3 separate regions of the Homo sapiens genome follow, and all the other regions are linked to region 1. The links are contacts of gene promoters, found by promoter capture Hi-C in human tissues and cell types (Jung and others, 2019). All regions are on one chromosome and are shown on one strand. The core of a region is centred on a gene start or on the middle of the fragment in contact, and the rest is flanking DNA. Distances in the headings are between cores, read along the strand shown. Region 1 holds the start of GCSH (glycine cleavage system protein H). Region 2 overlaps GAN (gigaxonin). Region 3 has its middle 30 kb from the start of ARLNC1.

Region 1 (5,052 bases), core at 1,006-3,505:
TCCGCCCGCCTCAGCCTCCCAAAGTGCTGGGATTAAAGGCATGAGCCACCGTGCCTGGACAATAATTACTTTCTAACTGGGCCTTGAAAAAGGTGGTTTTTGGCCTCGGAAAATTAGGAGTTGTGAGCAATTTATGAAAATTTTGCATTTTCCTTTTTCAATGTCACTAGTCAGATAAAATATTTTATATTAGTATTAGTCAATTTTTCTTCTCTTTTTTTTTTGAGATGGAGGTGTGCTCTTGTCGTCCAGCTACTCCACAGGCTGAGGCAGGAGAAGTGTTTGAACCCGGGAAGCGAAGGTTGCAGTGAGCCAAGATCCTGCCACTGGATGCCAGCCTGGGCGACAGAGCGAGACTCCATCTCAAAAAAGAAGAAAAAAAAAAGGAACGAAAACCACAGACTTGAAACTAAATTCTTATCTGAGAAATGCTTTACCTTTGTATTCAAATTAGTGATGTAGGGATCCCTATCAGAAACAGAGCGGACAGACTATTAGCAAGACAGCATAAGTAAATCTTTATGCTACAAATTTTGGAATAAATTTATCAACCATTCCAGCTCCAAACAGGTTTCTAAAACAATGAGCTAATGAGACAAGAGCCATCACTGATCTACGCAATCGAAGCAGAGGAGCAGTCAGTGTATCAAACATTTGGGCGTAAAGAAAATTGTTGGCCTGGCGCGGTGACGCACGACTGTAATCTCAGCACTTTGGGAGGCTGAGGCGGGTGGATCACTTGAGGTCAGGAGTTTGAGACCAGCCTAACGTGGCGAAACCCTGTCTCTACTAAAAATACAAAACTCAGCTGGAGGTGGTGACGGGCGCCAGTGAACCCAGCTACTCGGGAGGCTGAGGCAAGAGAATCGCTTGAATCTGGGAGGTGGCGCTTGCAGTGAGCCGAGATCACGCCGCTGCACTCCAGCCTGGGCGACAGAGCGAGGCTCCGTCTCAATAAAAAGAAAAAAAAAAAAAAAGAAAATTGTTTTTCCCCTGCAATAATTGTGCTGAAGTAGCACAAATGGCCGAAACATTCATGGGCAGGTTTCCCAGTTATTTCAAGTCCGTTTGAGTTAGGGCTCATTTCAGCAAGCACACACATGAATGATCCAATACAAACTTTAGCAGAACTTCTGTTGAGTCCAGAAGACTTTATCTTACTTGTTTTGGGGAAATAGCTGAATCTTCAAAGTTATGATTGTTTTATCTAGTAAAAAAATCTAGATCTGGCGCTTTAATTTTTTTTTTTTTTTTTTTTTTTGAGGTGGAGTTTTGCTCTGTCGCCCAGGCTGGAGTGCAGTGGCGCGATCTCGGCTCACTGCAACCTCTGCCTCCCAGGTTCAAGCGATTCTCCTGCCTCAGCCTCCCGAGTAGCTGGGATTACATGCGCATGCCGCCACGCCTGGCTAATTTTTTGTACTTTTAGTAGAGATGGGATTTCACCGTGTTAGCCAGGATAGTCTCGATCTCCTGACCTCGTGATCCGCCCTCCGGCATGAGCCAACGCGCCCTGCCTGGTGCTTTAATTTTAATAAGCGCTTCTGTTTTAATTTTACTTCGGAGTTCTCAGTAACGGTCCATTTAGTAAACTAAAGGCCTCCCCATTTGGGGTCTCAACGATGCACGCAGATGGGAGATAAACTTAAGGCCACCGAGACGCTTAAGCGACACGTGCCTGGCTTCTGCAGCAAGCGGCCGACCTGCCCGCCGGACCCGCCGGGCCACCCCCGCCTCGGTGTCCCGCAGGCCTCCCCTCCCGGCTGCATGCAATCCCTAGGGCAAAGGCTACTCGCGGGTCCTCCCGCTACTTAAGGGGGAGAAGCGGCCGCAGAGCCAGGGATCCCAACAGAAATAAGAAGGGGGCAGGGTCCGCGCTCGCTCCGCCCCGGTGGCTCAGGAGCGGTGCCCCGGCGTCCTCCGTGTCCCGCTGGGCCCGGGACAAGCAGCCCAGGCGGGGAGGGAGCAGCCGCCCACGTGCCCGCCGCGCTTACCCGAGAGCAGAGCGGGTCCAGTGCGCAGCGTACGGACGGCGCCCACCCCCAGCTGCCAGGGCCTCGGCGGGCAGGGCGCGGCGGGTGACGGGACCGCGCGCAGGGTGCAGAGCAGGGCCCGCACGCTCCGCACCACTCGCAGCGCCATGTTCGCAGGGGTGCGGGGGTCGCAGCGCTACGCCTCGGCCACCCGCGCCGGGAGGCGGGGCGGGGAGGGGCAGTTCGCGGCCGGAGGGAGCCGGCTGGATGGAGGCGCGGAGGCGGTGCCGCGGGGGCGGGACAGAGCCTGACTGGGCAGAGCGTGGAGGGCGGAGACTCCCAGGCGAGGGGGCGAGGCAGGGTCTGATTGGCCAGCACGCGGAGACTGGGGACTCCAGGGCCTGGCGCGACCTCGGATACGGCGACGCGAAAGAGGGGCGTGGGCATGGGGAAGAACCTGAGGCCCGGAAGAGGCAGCACCGAGAGGCGGAGACTAGCGCGGCGGGCCTGGGTATGATTGGGCTGCCCGCAGGAGGGGGGCGGGGCCTAGCCCCAGACTGGGTTCCTTTCCACATGTGTATCTCTTTTACTGCCTCTGTCATAAGTTTTCAAAGGTGGTTTCACCACCTCACGAAGGAATTCAAGAACAAGTCGGAAAGTCGTGAAAGTACAGAGGTTTACTGCAAAGTACACACTGAAGAAAGGGCGGACTCAAAAGAGGGCCACACAATGGGGCTTGGGGTTTCCATCTTTATGGGTTTCTTTGAGAAATGGAATATACACAAAGGTTTCTGGAATAAGGTGGAGACTTGTCAGAACTGTGGTGCCACCCATTTTTACACCAAATATGGGTGTTCCCGGAATTGTTGTGGTGCCGGTGGGTGTGTGACTTAGTATGTTAATGAGTCCTAGGTGAAGCCTAGGTCAAAGCCACACCACGTTGGGTCCAGTTGGTTTTAGCCAGGTTGACCCACACCCTGGTTTTTCAGGGTCTTAGCCCATAGCTTGTGCAGCTATTTCAACAGTTTCCTTTTGTTAGACAGAACTGCAGCCTGGAAGTTTCTATTCTCCTTCAACTGCTCTGTAACGTTCCTGTCTCAAAGAGCCCCAGGGACCCCAAACAGGACCGGCAGAATCCAGAAGCTTACTTAAAAAGGAATAAAGACTTGTCCAAGGGTCATAAGTGGCTTCTTGGTGGAGACTGGACCCAAGCCAGTCACTAATGCAGAAATATTCAAAACGCAGAGAGCTGAGACCCAGTGTGCACAATTCCTTGTTTCATCGGCCAGCGGTGTGACCAAGGCCTTCCGAGAAAAGCCGAAGTCATCATCCCAATCCAAGAAGTCAGAAAAAAATTAGGTTCTGGGAAAAACCTCACCTTTAACACAGATTTTATGGAGTGGCCATGAGTCAGCAAAGAAATACTGTTCTGAAAAACACCTTAAGCTACACACACACCTTTAGTACTGTTACAGAAAGGGCTCCCAATCCAGACCCCAAGAGAGGGTTTTTGGACCTCATGCAAGAAAGAATTTGGGGAGAGTCTATAAAGTGAAAGCACGTTTAATAGAGAAGTAAAGAAAAAAAAGAATGGCTTCTTCGTAGACAGAGCAGCAGTATGGCTTCTCGACTAAGTGTACTTATAGTTATTTCTTGATTGTATGCTAAACAAGGGGTGGATCATTCAAGAGTTCTCCAGAAAAGGGGCAGGGATTTCCTAGAACTAACGGTTCCTCCGCTTTTTGGACTATAGGGTAACTTCTCTGGACGTTGCCATTGCATTTGTGAACTGTCATGACGCTGGTGGGAGTTGTTTTTTTTTTAACATGCTAATGCATTATAATTAGCGTATAATGAGCAGTGAGACCTACCAGAGGTCGCCATCTTGGTTTTGGTGAGTTTTGGCCAGCTCCTTTACCGCATCCTATTTTATCAGCAGGGACTTTGTGACCTGTATCTTGTGCCAACCCTAGCTCATCCTGTGACTAAGTGAGGCAGGTGAATCACTTGAGGTCAGGAGTTCGAGACCAACCTGGCCAACATGGAGAAACCCCCGTCTCTACTACAAATCCAAAGTTTAGCCAGGCATGGTGGCAGGTGCCTGTAATCCCAGCTACTCAGGAGGCTGAGGCACGAGAATCACTTGAGCCTGGGAGGCAGAGGTTGCAGTGAGTCGAGATCACGCCACTGCACTCCAGCCTGGGTGACAGAGCGAGACTCTGCTTCAGAAAAAAATACAAATAAAAAGAATGCCTAACCTCCTGGGAATGCAGCCCACCAAGTCTCAGCCTCATTTTACCCAGCCCATATTCAAAATGGAGTTGTTCTTGTTCAAACACCGGAAACAGTACCATAGGGTGCACACCATGGAGTGTGTGTGTGTTTGGGGAGCCCATACGTTGTTGCACTGAGCTTCTGCCCTGCTATGAACTTAGGGTTGCCACCACATCTGTGCAGTGGCTTGCAAGGGCCGTCATGCCCACTTTCTTTTGAGCAAATCATTCCCATCTATTGAGCCTTTGCTATGTGCCTGGCACTATGCACACATCTTTTTAATCCTCTCCAAACCTCTTTCTGGCAGGTGTTACACTCATTTCATAGATGAGGCTCAGAGGTGAAGGCACTTCCGAGGAGTGGGATCGGGGAGGCGTTTTTGTGGCTTAAGTAGCTCCTAGGTGGCAGTAGTAGACCTTGGCCTCTACACTGATTAGAAAGCAACTCTTCTTTTTTTCTTTTTTTTTTTCGAGACGAAGTCTAGCTCTGTCGCCCAAGCTGGAGCGCAGTGGCGTGATCTTGGCTCACTGCAACCTCTGCCTCCCGGGTTCAAGCAATTCTCCTGCTTCAGCCTCCCGAGTGGCTGGGACTACAGGACCACGTGCCACCACGCCCGTCTAATTTTTGTATGTTTAGTAGAGATGGGGTTTCACTATGTTGGCCAAGCTGGTCTCGAACTCCTGACCTTGTAATCCACCCACCTCGGCCTTCCAAAGTGCTGGGATTACAGGCATGAACCACCGTGCCTGGCCAGCAATTGCTCTTAAGCTCTGCTCCGCTTGCTTTCGTTTGGGATGCTGACTGGATC
Region 2 (5,052 bases), core at 991-3,490, 240 kb after region 1:
TCAGTACAGTCCATTGACTTCTCAGTTATATGTGGCAGAGATAAAAACAAAGTGCAAGATGAGAAAATTCTAGATAAAAAAGGGAAATCTAAGGCGAAAATGTTTTGGTAGGTATTAGAAAAATGAAAGTATATGGAAGGAAAGAAATGCAAAACAGAATGGAATAAAACTAAAGGTATATAGAGATTTAAGTTGGGAAGTTGGGGGAAAAGTGAAGACAATAAGGGAGAATAAGACAAGTTTGTGTAGTTACTAAATTAGAAAGGAACGGTGACTGTCCCAGAAATGCGGGAGGGAAGTGGCTGTGAATGGCAGAAGGCTGTGGAGCAAGACTGCTTCCGGATAGATTTGAGTGATGCTTACAGTCCAAGACTGGAAGGGAGGCCCTTTGAGAGGCCCTGATTTCCAACTTTCACTTCATTCTTGGCAGACAGGTAGATGATCATCCAGCATGATGCTACTAAGATGGCATGTGCAGGCTGGTGATGGTCTGCACATTGTTACCTGCCCATGATCATAGAAGCTCAAGAGTTTAGAAACTCTTTTAGCAGTTTGACAGAGTAATTTATGTCTGTTGAATTTATCTATGAATTAAGTCATTATATTTTACAAAATATTCATCTGGGATTAATTGGAAATACAAAAAACATAGCACAGATAATTGAAGAAGCACCTATTAACCCCTTGTTACTCAAAGAGTGGTCTGGAGACCGACAGAATCCACATCACCCAAGAGCTCATTACAAAGACAAGCACTCAGGCTGCATTGCCAACCTTCTGAATCAGAAAAACCTTGTTTTGAACAGTTCCCAGTTGAATTGTATGAGCATTAAAGTTTGAGAAGCACTGGGCCTTAATCCTTTCAGCGTTGTACAGATACAGTTATTAAACGTTCTTCCTTGTTTTTGATCTGGTTCAGCTTTGTTGTACCTAAGGTCATCAGAAAAAATCATATGTGAGAGCACTTCACATTTAAAGACTTGAGTATTTAAAGACCACTGTCAGCTTCAAGTTTATTGTACATGTAATCATCAAGCAGCATCTTCACTTTGTAAACTGCTGGGCTAGGTTGTCAGCATACAGTGATAAAGAGGGCTCCAGCCTCAAGGAACTTGGAGTTTACTAAAGGAAATAGAGAAATACCATAATGTAGGCCAGAACTTGATCATTCCATAGTATGTCATAATAAAGTTATTGATAAGGTGCTGGGGAAATTCATAACAGGAATCTATTTTTACCTACAAAGAGGTAAGGGCGGAGGTGCAGCTTGTGGCAGGATGGAGTGATCTAGGAAAAATCTGTAGAACAGCTGGCATTACAACTGATCTTTCAAAGACGGGTGGGAATTGGGCAGGCACAAATGGTATTGGGGGAGGTTAAGGGCAGGATAGGATGATGGGAAGGTGTCAGGGGCAGATGTAAGGATGTGAATTTAAACCGTAATTAAAGTTTTGATACTTAACCTTCAGGTGTTTGGAGACTTCAAGTGTACAGCAATTCATTTTTTCATGGGCTTTGGAAAGGATCACATTTTATGGAAGTCTGAAATGGTCCATGCTCGTATTTCAGGAAGTCTCTTATTCCTTCCTCTTAGCCATTGTGTATCCTCTGCCACCTGCTGAGAAAAACCTGTATTCTTTATATTTGTTCGTTTCTTTGTTTTAAATAGAGATGAGGTCTTGCTGTGTTGCCCACAATGGTCTTGAACTCCTGGGCTCAAGCAGTCCTCTCACCTCAGCCTTACAAAGTGCCCGGATTACAGGCGTGAGCCACTGTGCCCAGCCAAAACCTGTACTCATTAGAAATGATCCTCTTTCATTGTGGAAACATATGACAGTAGAATAATCCTTAAAAAAAATAATAAAACCCATCCAGTCACATGAGTCAGAAATAAAAATAAAAGAAAACAATAAAAGGGCTCCTTGTCCAACACACACCTCACACAGGCAGGTGCCCCTCTGGGGCGAAGCTTCCAGAGGAAGGATCAGGCAGCAATTTTTGCTGTTCTGCAGTCTCCACTGGTGATACCCAGGCAAACAGGGTCTGGAATGGACCTCCAGCAAACCCCCACAGACCTGCAGCTGAGGGGCCTCTCTGTTAGAAGGAAAACTAACAAACAGAAAGGAATAGCATCAACATCAACAAAAAGGACATCCACACCAAAACCCCACCCATAGGTCACCAACATCAAAGACCCAAGTAGATAAAACCACAAAGATGGGGAGAAACCAGAGCAGAAAGGCTGAAAATTCTTTGGAGGAGAAGAGAATACCTCTTCTCCTCCAAAGGAATACAACTCCTTGCCAGCAAGGGAACAAAACTGGATGGATAATGAATTTGATGAGTTGATAGAAGTAGGCTTCAGAAGGTCAGTAATAACAAACTTCTCCAAGCTAAAGGAGCATGTTTTAACCCATCGCAAGGAATCGAAAAGCGTTCAAAAAGGGTTAGACAAATGGCTAACTAGAATAACCAGTGTAGAGAAGACCTTAAATGACCTGATGGAGCTGAAAACCACAGTATGAGAACTTCATGAAGTATACACAAGCTTCAGTAGCTGATTCGATCAAGCAGAAGAAAGGATATCAGTGACTGAAGATCAGATTAATGAAATAAAGCAAGAAGACAAGATTAGAGAAAAAAGGAGTGAAAAGAAATGAAGAAAGCCTTCAAGAAATATGGGACTATGTGAAAAGACCAAATCTACATTTGTTTGGTGTACTTGAAAGTGATGGGGAGAATGGAACCAAGTTGGAAAACACTCTGCAGGATATTATCCAGGAGAACTTCCCCAACCTAGGGAGGCAGGCCAACATTCAAATTCAGGAAATACAGAGAATGCCACAAAGATACTCCTCGAGAAGAGCAACCCCAAGACACATAGATTCACCAAGGTTGAAATGAAGGAAAAAATGTTAAGGGCAGCCAGAGAGAAAGGTCGGGTTACCCACAAAGGGAGCCCATCAGACTAACAGTGGATCTCTCTGCAGAAACCCTACAAACCAGAAGAGAGTGGGGGCCAATATTCAACATTCTTAAAACTATTTTCAACCCAGAATTTCATATCTAGCCAAACTAAGCTTCATAAGTGAAGGAGAAATAAAATCCTTTACAGACAAGCAAATGCTGAGAGATTTTTGTCACCACCAGGCCTGCCTTACAAGAGCTCCTGAAGGAAGCACTAAACATGGATAGGAACAACCGGTACCAGCCACTGTAAAAACATGCCAAATTGTAAAGACCATCGATGCTGTGAAGTAACTGCATCAATTAACAGGTGAAATAACCAGCTAGCATCATAGTGACAGGATCAAATTCACACATAAGAATATTAACCTTAAATGTAAATGGGCTAAATACCCCAATTGAAAGACACAGATTGGCAAATTGGATAAAGAGTCAAGACCCATCAGTGTGCTGTGTTCAGGAGACCCATCTCACATGCAAAGACACACATAGGCTCAAAATAAAGGGATGGAGGAAGATCTACCAAGCAAATGGAAAGCAGAAGAAGCAGGGGTTGCAATCCTTGTCTCTGATAAAACAGACTTTAAACCAACAAAGATCAGAAGAGACAAAGAAGGCCATTACATAATGGTAAAGGGATCTATTCAACAAGAAGAGCTAACTATCCTAAATACATATCCACCCAATACAGGAGCACCCAGATTCATAAAGCAAGTTCTTAGAGACCTACAAAGAGACTTAGACTCCCACACAATAATAATGGGAGACTTTAACACCCCACTGTCAATATTAGACAGATGAATGAGACAGAAAATTAATAAGGGTATGCAGAACTTGAACTCAGCTCTGGACCAAGCAGACCAAATAGACATCTACAGAACTCTCCACCCCAAATCAACAGAATATACATTCTTCTTAGCACCACATTGCACTTATTCTAAAATTGACCACATAATTGGAAGTAAAGCACTCCTAGGCAAATGTAAAAGAACAGAAATCACAACAAACTGTCTCAGACCACAGTGCAATCAAATTAGAATTCAGGATTCAGACTCTCACTCAAAACCGCACAACTACATGGAAACTGAACAACTTGCTCCTGAATGATTACTGGGTAAATAACGAAATGAAGGCAGAAATAAAGATTTTCTTTGAAACCAATGAGAACAAAGACACAACGTACCAGAATCTTTGGGACACATTTCAAGCAATATGTAGAGGGAAATTTATAGCACGAAATGCCCACAAGAGAAAGCAGGACAGATCTAAAATCCACACCCTAGCATCACAATTAAAAGAACTAGAGAAGCAAGAGCAAACACATTCAAAAACTAGCAGAAGACAAGAAATAACTAAGATCAGAGCAGAACTGAAGGAGATGGAGACACAACCCTTCAAAAAATCAATGAATCCAGGAACTGGTTTTTTGAAAAGATCAGCAAAATGGTTAGACTGCTAGCAAGACTAATAAAGAAGAAAAGAGAGAAGAATCAAATAGACGGAATAAAAAATGATAAAGGGGATATCACCACCGATCCCAAAGAAATACAAACTACCTTCAGAGAATACTATGAACACCTCTACAGAAATAAACTAGAACATCTAGAAGAAATGGATAAATTCCTGGACACATACACCCTCCCAAAACTAAACCAGGAAGAAGTTGAATCTCTGAATAGACCAATAACAGGTTCTGAAATTGAGGCAATAATTAATAGCCTACCAACCAAAAAAAAGTCCAGGACCAGACGGATTCACAGCCGAGTTCTATAAAGAGGAGCTGGTACCATTCCTTCTGAAACTATTCCGATCAATAGAAAAAGGGGGAATCCTCACTAACTCATTTTATGAGGCCAGCATCATCCTGATACCAAAGCCTGGGAGAGACACAACAAAAGAGAATTTTAGGCCAATATCCCTGATGAACATTGATGTGAAAATCCTCAATAAAATACTGGCAAGCCGAATCCAGCAGCACATCAGAAAGCTTATCCACCACGATCAAGTTGGCTTCATCCCTGGGATGCAAGGCTGGTTCAACATATGCAAATCAATAAACATAATCCATCACATAAGCAGAACCAA
Region 3 (5,052 bases), core at 1,899-4,398, 170 kb before region 1:
GATTAAAACATGAAGTTAGATGAGATCATCTAGGAAGAGAGTGTGGATGGAAAAGAGAAGAGGGGCCGGGTATGGTGGCTCATGCCTGTAATCCCAGCATTTTGGGAGGCCGAGGTGGGTGGATCACTTGAGGTCAGGAGTTCGAGACCACCCTGGGCAACAGGGTGAAACCCTGTCTGTACTAAAAATACAAAAAATGAGCTGGGCGTGGTGGTACACACCTGTAATCCCAGCTACTCAGGAGGCTGAGGCGGGAGAATCACTGGAACCCAGGAGGCAGAGGTTGCAGTAAGCCAAGATCATGCCATTGCACTCCAGCCTGGGAGACAGAATGAGACTCGCCTCAAAAAAAAAAAAAAAAAAAAAAAAAAAGGAAGAAAAAGAAGAGGGCCACAAAATGGGATCTGGGGGACTTGAACCTTTAGAGAGCTCCAGAACGACAGAGATCAAGAAGACTCAGAAATGGGAGGACCAGGAGAGGAGGGTGTCCTGGAAGCCAAGAGAAGAAAGCTTGTCAAGAAGAAAGTGATGGCTGGGGGCGGTGGCTCACGCCTGTAATCCCAGCACTTTGGGAGGCCGAAGTGGGTGGATCATGAGGTCAAGAGATCAAAACCATCCTGGCCAAATGGTGAAACCCCATCTCTACTAAAAATACAAAAATCAGCTGGGCGTGGTGGCACGCGCCTGTAGTCCCAGCTCCTCAGGAGGCTGAGGCAGGAGAATCGCTTGAACCCGCGAGACGGAGGTTGCAGTGAGCCAAGATCACGCCATTGCACTCCAGCCTGGGTGACAGAGCCAGACTCCATCTCAAAAAAAAAAAAGAAGAAAGTGATAAACTGTGCCAAACGCTACTGACAGCACATGCCAGATAGAGACTGAGAAAGGACCATTGGATTTAGTCACAAGGAGGTCACTGTAAACCTGGAGAAGTGAAGTTTCAGTGGAGTAGAGGTATAAAAACCTGGTGAGGGGCGGTTCAAGAATAAGTGGGGCGAGAGAAATTCGAGGCAGCAAGGATGGACAGGTCTTCCCGGAATTCCCTGAACCCATAACGTTTTAATTTTTTCTTAAGTTACTGTGAATTGACTTTCTGTTGCTCATAACAAGAACAAAAGTCTGGGCTAATAGAGGAGGGAGGCAGGAGGCAAAGGAAGGTATTGAGTACCTACTGTGTTCCAGGAACTTCATATACATTATCTCATTTAATTTTAACTTAACTATAATAAACTTGTACCGCAGGTATTATTTATCCCCATATTACAAATAAGAAAACTGAGGCTCAGGGAAATTAACTACTTGTGTATTCAAACTTGCATTCACACCCAGATTGGACTCCAGATCCTACAGCACAGCTATTAGGGGACAACAAATATTGAAGAGAGCAGAAGGCCACTGAGGCCCTGTTTTTGCAACGATATATACAAGTGGTTCTCAACCTTCAGAACTACCCAGAGGGCTTGTCAAACCACAGGTTGCTGGGACCCCTGATTCAGCACTGAGTAGGAGAGGGGAGAGAATCTGCATCTCTAACAGGTTTCCAGGTAAGGCTGCAGGTCCGAGGGCCATACTTTAAGAACCACAGATCATCTATGACATCGCTCTCCCTTGCTCAGGCCCAGGGTCCCTGAAGACCCCACTGAGAACTAAAATCTCTCAGTTCAGTTTATTTCCAAGCTACTAGAGGGAACCCGGCAGCATCATATCAGAATCTCTTGGTCTCTTCTTTTGAATCCCTCCTGAGAACTGACTCTGGGCAGTCAGATAGCAGACACTTAATTTTTTATTTTTTATTTCCACAGGTTATTGGGGAACAGATGGTATTTGGTTACATGAGGAAGTTCTTTAGTAGTGATTTCTGAGATTTTTTTTTTTTTTTGAGACGGAGTTTTTGCTCTTCTTGCCCAGACTGGAGTGCGGTGGAGCGATCTTGGCTCACTGCAACCTCTGCCTCCCAGGTTCAAGCAATTCTCCAGCCTCAGCCTCCTGAGTAGCTGGGATTACAGGCATGCACCACCATGCCTGGCTAATATTTTTGTATTTTTAGTAGAAATGGGATTTCACCATGTTGGCGAGGTTGGTCTCAAACTCCTGACCTCAGGTGATCCACATGCCTTGGCCTCCCAAAGTGCTGGGATTACAGGCATGAGCTACCACGCCTGGCCAATTTCTGAGATTTTGATGCACCCATCACCCAAGCAATACACACTGAACTCAATTTGTAGTCTTTTATCCCTCATCACCTTTCCACCCTTCCCCCCGAGTCTCCAAAGTCCATTGTATCATTCTTATGTCTTTGTATCCTCATAGTTTAGTTTCCACTTATAAGTGATAACCTACGATGTTTGATTTTCCATTCCTGAGTTACTTCACTTAGAATAATGATCTCCAATCCCATCCAGGTGGTTGTGAATGCCATTAATTGATTCCTTTTTATGGCTGAGTAGTATTCCATCGTATATATATATATACCACAGTTTCTTTATCCACTCACTGATTGATGGGCATTTGGGCTGGTTCCACATTTCTGCAATTGTGAATTGGAGACAACAGGCACTTAGTTTAAAATGTCTTGTGTGACTCCCATATTTATCATCATATCGCATAGAATTATTTATCATCATGATTACAAATATGAGATGTGGTTGGCAGAAACAGTTTCTCTGGGAAATCTGATCAGCATGGAGTTTAGGGAGATTGTGCTTCCCAGTTCCCACAGACTGGGCTGCTACAGACAAGACTTCCCAAAATGCACCCCCACATCTTCTGGTTTGCAGCCTCTGTAGCCTGGCATGGAGAACAACCAATCAGTGCTTCACCCAAAACTTACAAAGGAACCCTCCGGCTGAACAGCCTACATTCCTTTGCACTTTCTGCCTATACCAAATGTCTCGTCCCTGGAATTGTATTACTGTTCCTCTTTGATCCTGCCTGTCCTCGCCCAGCCATGGAGGAGCGCTGGGCCTCTTTGAGGTGTTTGCATCAATAGGAGAGAATGCAGAGCTCAAGAGTGCATTGGGCTGGGTGCGGTGGCTCATGCCTGTAATCCCAGCAGCTTGGGAGGCCAAAGTGAGTGGATCATCTGAAGTCAGGAGTTAGAGACCAGCCTGGCCAACATGGTGAAACCCCGTATCTATTGAAAACACAAAAATTAGGCAGGCGTGGTGGCACACACCTGTAATCCCAGCTACCAGGGAGGCTGAGGCAGGAGAACCACTTGAACGCGGGAGGTGGAGGTTGCAGTGAGCTGAGATTGTGCCACTGCACTCCAGCCTGGGTGACAGAGCAAGATGCCATCAAAAGAAAAAAAAAAAAAAAAGAGCACACTGTGCATTGATTTGAGTGTCAGCTTCATTTTAACTCTATTTCAAACTCAGCCAGGAAGTAGCTGTGTGCCGTTAGGCAAGTTAATTGACCTCTCTGAGCCTGTGTTTCTTCTTCTATAAAACAGAGACAATAAGAAATATCTTACAGGTTGTTGGTATTGATTATCAAAACTGTTATATGCCCAGAATGAAAGATGGTAATTGACAGAGTTGTTTATTCGTTCATGTAACAAATATTCATTGAGGTCCTACTATGATCCAGGCACTGTCCCAGGATCTGGGGATGCAGCAGTGAAGAAAGCAGACACAAATTCCTACCCTCCTAGAGCATGACGTCTGGTGGGAACAGTCAGACAATTAGCAAAAAATCATTTTGTTTTTGTTTTTTTGAGACAGAGTCTTGCTCTGTTGCCCAGGCCTCAGCCTCGTAAGCAGTTGCAAGTACAAGCACTGCCATGCCCGGCTAATTTTTGTATTTTTGGTAGAGACAGGGTTTCTGCAGGTTGGCCACACTGGTCTCAAACTCCTGACCTCAAATGATCCACCCGCCTTGGCCTCCCCAAGTGCTGAGATAACAGGCCCGGCCAATGAACACATTATTTTAAAAGGAGCTAAGTTCTTTGGAGGGGTCTGGAGCCTACCATGGCAGGGAGCTTGCAATTTTAAACAGGTTGGTCAGAGAAGGCCTTGTGGAGAAGATGTTCTTTCAGTAAAGACTTGAAGGAGAGAAGGAGGTGAGCCGTGAAAACCCCTAGGTCAAGAGCAGTTGGGGACAGAAAGTGCAAAGGCCCTAATGGTGGGGCCTTCTGCATGGCTTTGAAGATCAGCAGAGACCACAGGGCCAGAGCAGAGCGAGTGAAAGAAAGATAATTAGCTGTGGGGTCACAGCATAATTATACGGGCTTTATTCATGGAAGTTATAAGCCAAAAGTAAGTCACAGTTGCCCTAAGTCAATTCACCTGGTGGCAGCCAGGGGAATGTGACCAAAAAGTCACTTTCTTAATATTTGCAACATTTTCCACTCAGCTCTTTGCAAGCTTATTTGTGTGATGACATCTTTCCCTAGTTGCCAACCGTAATACAAAGAAACCTTCACAAATACCAATAAAACCCAGACTCCCTGAGGGTGGAAATGAATCTCAATGAATGTCAAGGGAAAGGGCAGCTGGATCTCTAAACTCTGGTTCCCAGAGGTGTCTTCCTTTTGAGATCTGTGACAGCCACCAGCACGCTAGCCGCGAGGGGGCGTTGCTTCCCACCTAACACCCAGCCTTGACGGGCAGGGACCTCTCTTTAATGCCCTAGCACGGTTGGGTCAGGGTGAAGCATGAAATCAAGGCTGCAGATACTAGGAGAGAGCAGAAGGGAACGAAGCCCAGGGACCTTTAGGAGATGTGGTCAACTGGGGCTCCAGGCCAGCCCCAGAATCAGCTTTCAGCTGGCCTGTGTGAACTGGGCACCTTGTAACACTTATTTGTTCATGTAACACATCTCTGCTGGGTGAATATCATGTGTCAGGCACCGTGCTTTGCAATAGGCATGTATCTGGAATAAAATTGGCATACATCTTATACTTCAAAAAGAAATCAGGCCGGGCACAGCAGCTCACATCTGTAGTCCCAGCACTTTGGGAGACCAAGGTGGGCAGATCACCTGAGGTCAGGAGTTCGAGACCAGCCTGGTCAAAATGGTGAAACCCCGTCTCTACTAAAAATACAAAAATTAGCT

What was found. The method cuts DNA at HindIII sites, captures the fragments that hold promoters and counts their contacts. A contact is called where the count stands out against the background at its distance.
Region 2: a fragment that was not itself captured here is called in contact with the fragment with the promoter of GCSH in region 1 in 2 of the 25 tissues and cell types used here (dorsolateral prefrontal cortex and mesenchymal stem cells).
Region 3: a contact is called between a fragment that was not itself captured here and the fragment with the promoter of GCSH in region 1, in 1 of the 25 tissues and cell types used here (adrenal gland).

Annotation. Positions count from the first base shown.
Region 1 is chr16:81,094,140-81,099,191 of GRCh38, forward strand. GCSH (glycine cleavage system protein H) reads right to left here and starts at 2,256. Exons shown (of 5, transcript NM_004483.5): 1 at 1,992-2,256. The coding sequence starts at 2,139. RefSeq lists silencers at 1,673-2,342, 2,493-2,592. The HindIII fragment of the contact is 10,346 bases long and covers 1-4,593 here.
Region 2 is chr16:81,338,455-81,343,506 of GRCh38, forward strand. All of the region lies in intron 1 of GAN (gigaxonin), which reads left to right. Among named protein-coding and RNA genes, the nearest start is that of GAN, 26 kb to the left of the region's middle. The HindIII fragment of the contact is 3,554 bases long and covers 464-4,017 here.
Region 3 is chr16:80,920,140-80,925,191 of GRCh38, forward strand. No RefSeq gene overlaps it. Among named protein-coding and RNA genes, the nearest start is that of ARLNC1, 30 kb to the left of the region's middle. The HindIII fragment of the contact is 7,062 bases long and covers 1-5,052 here.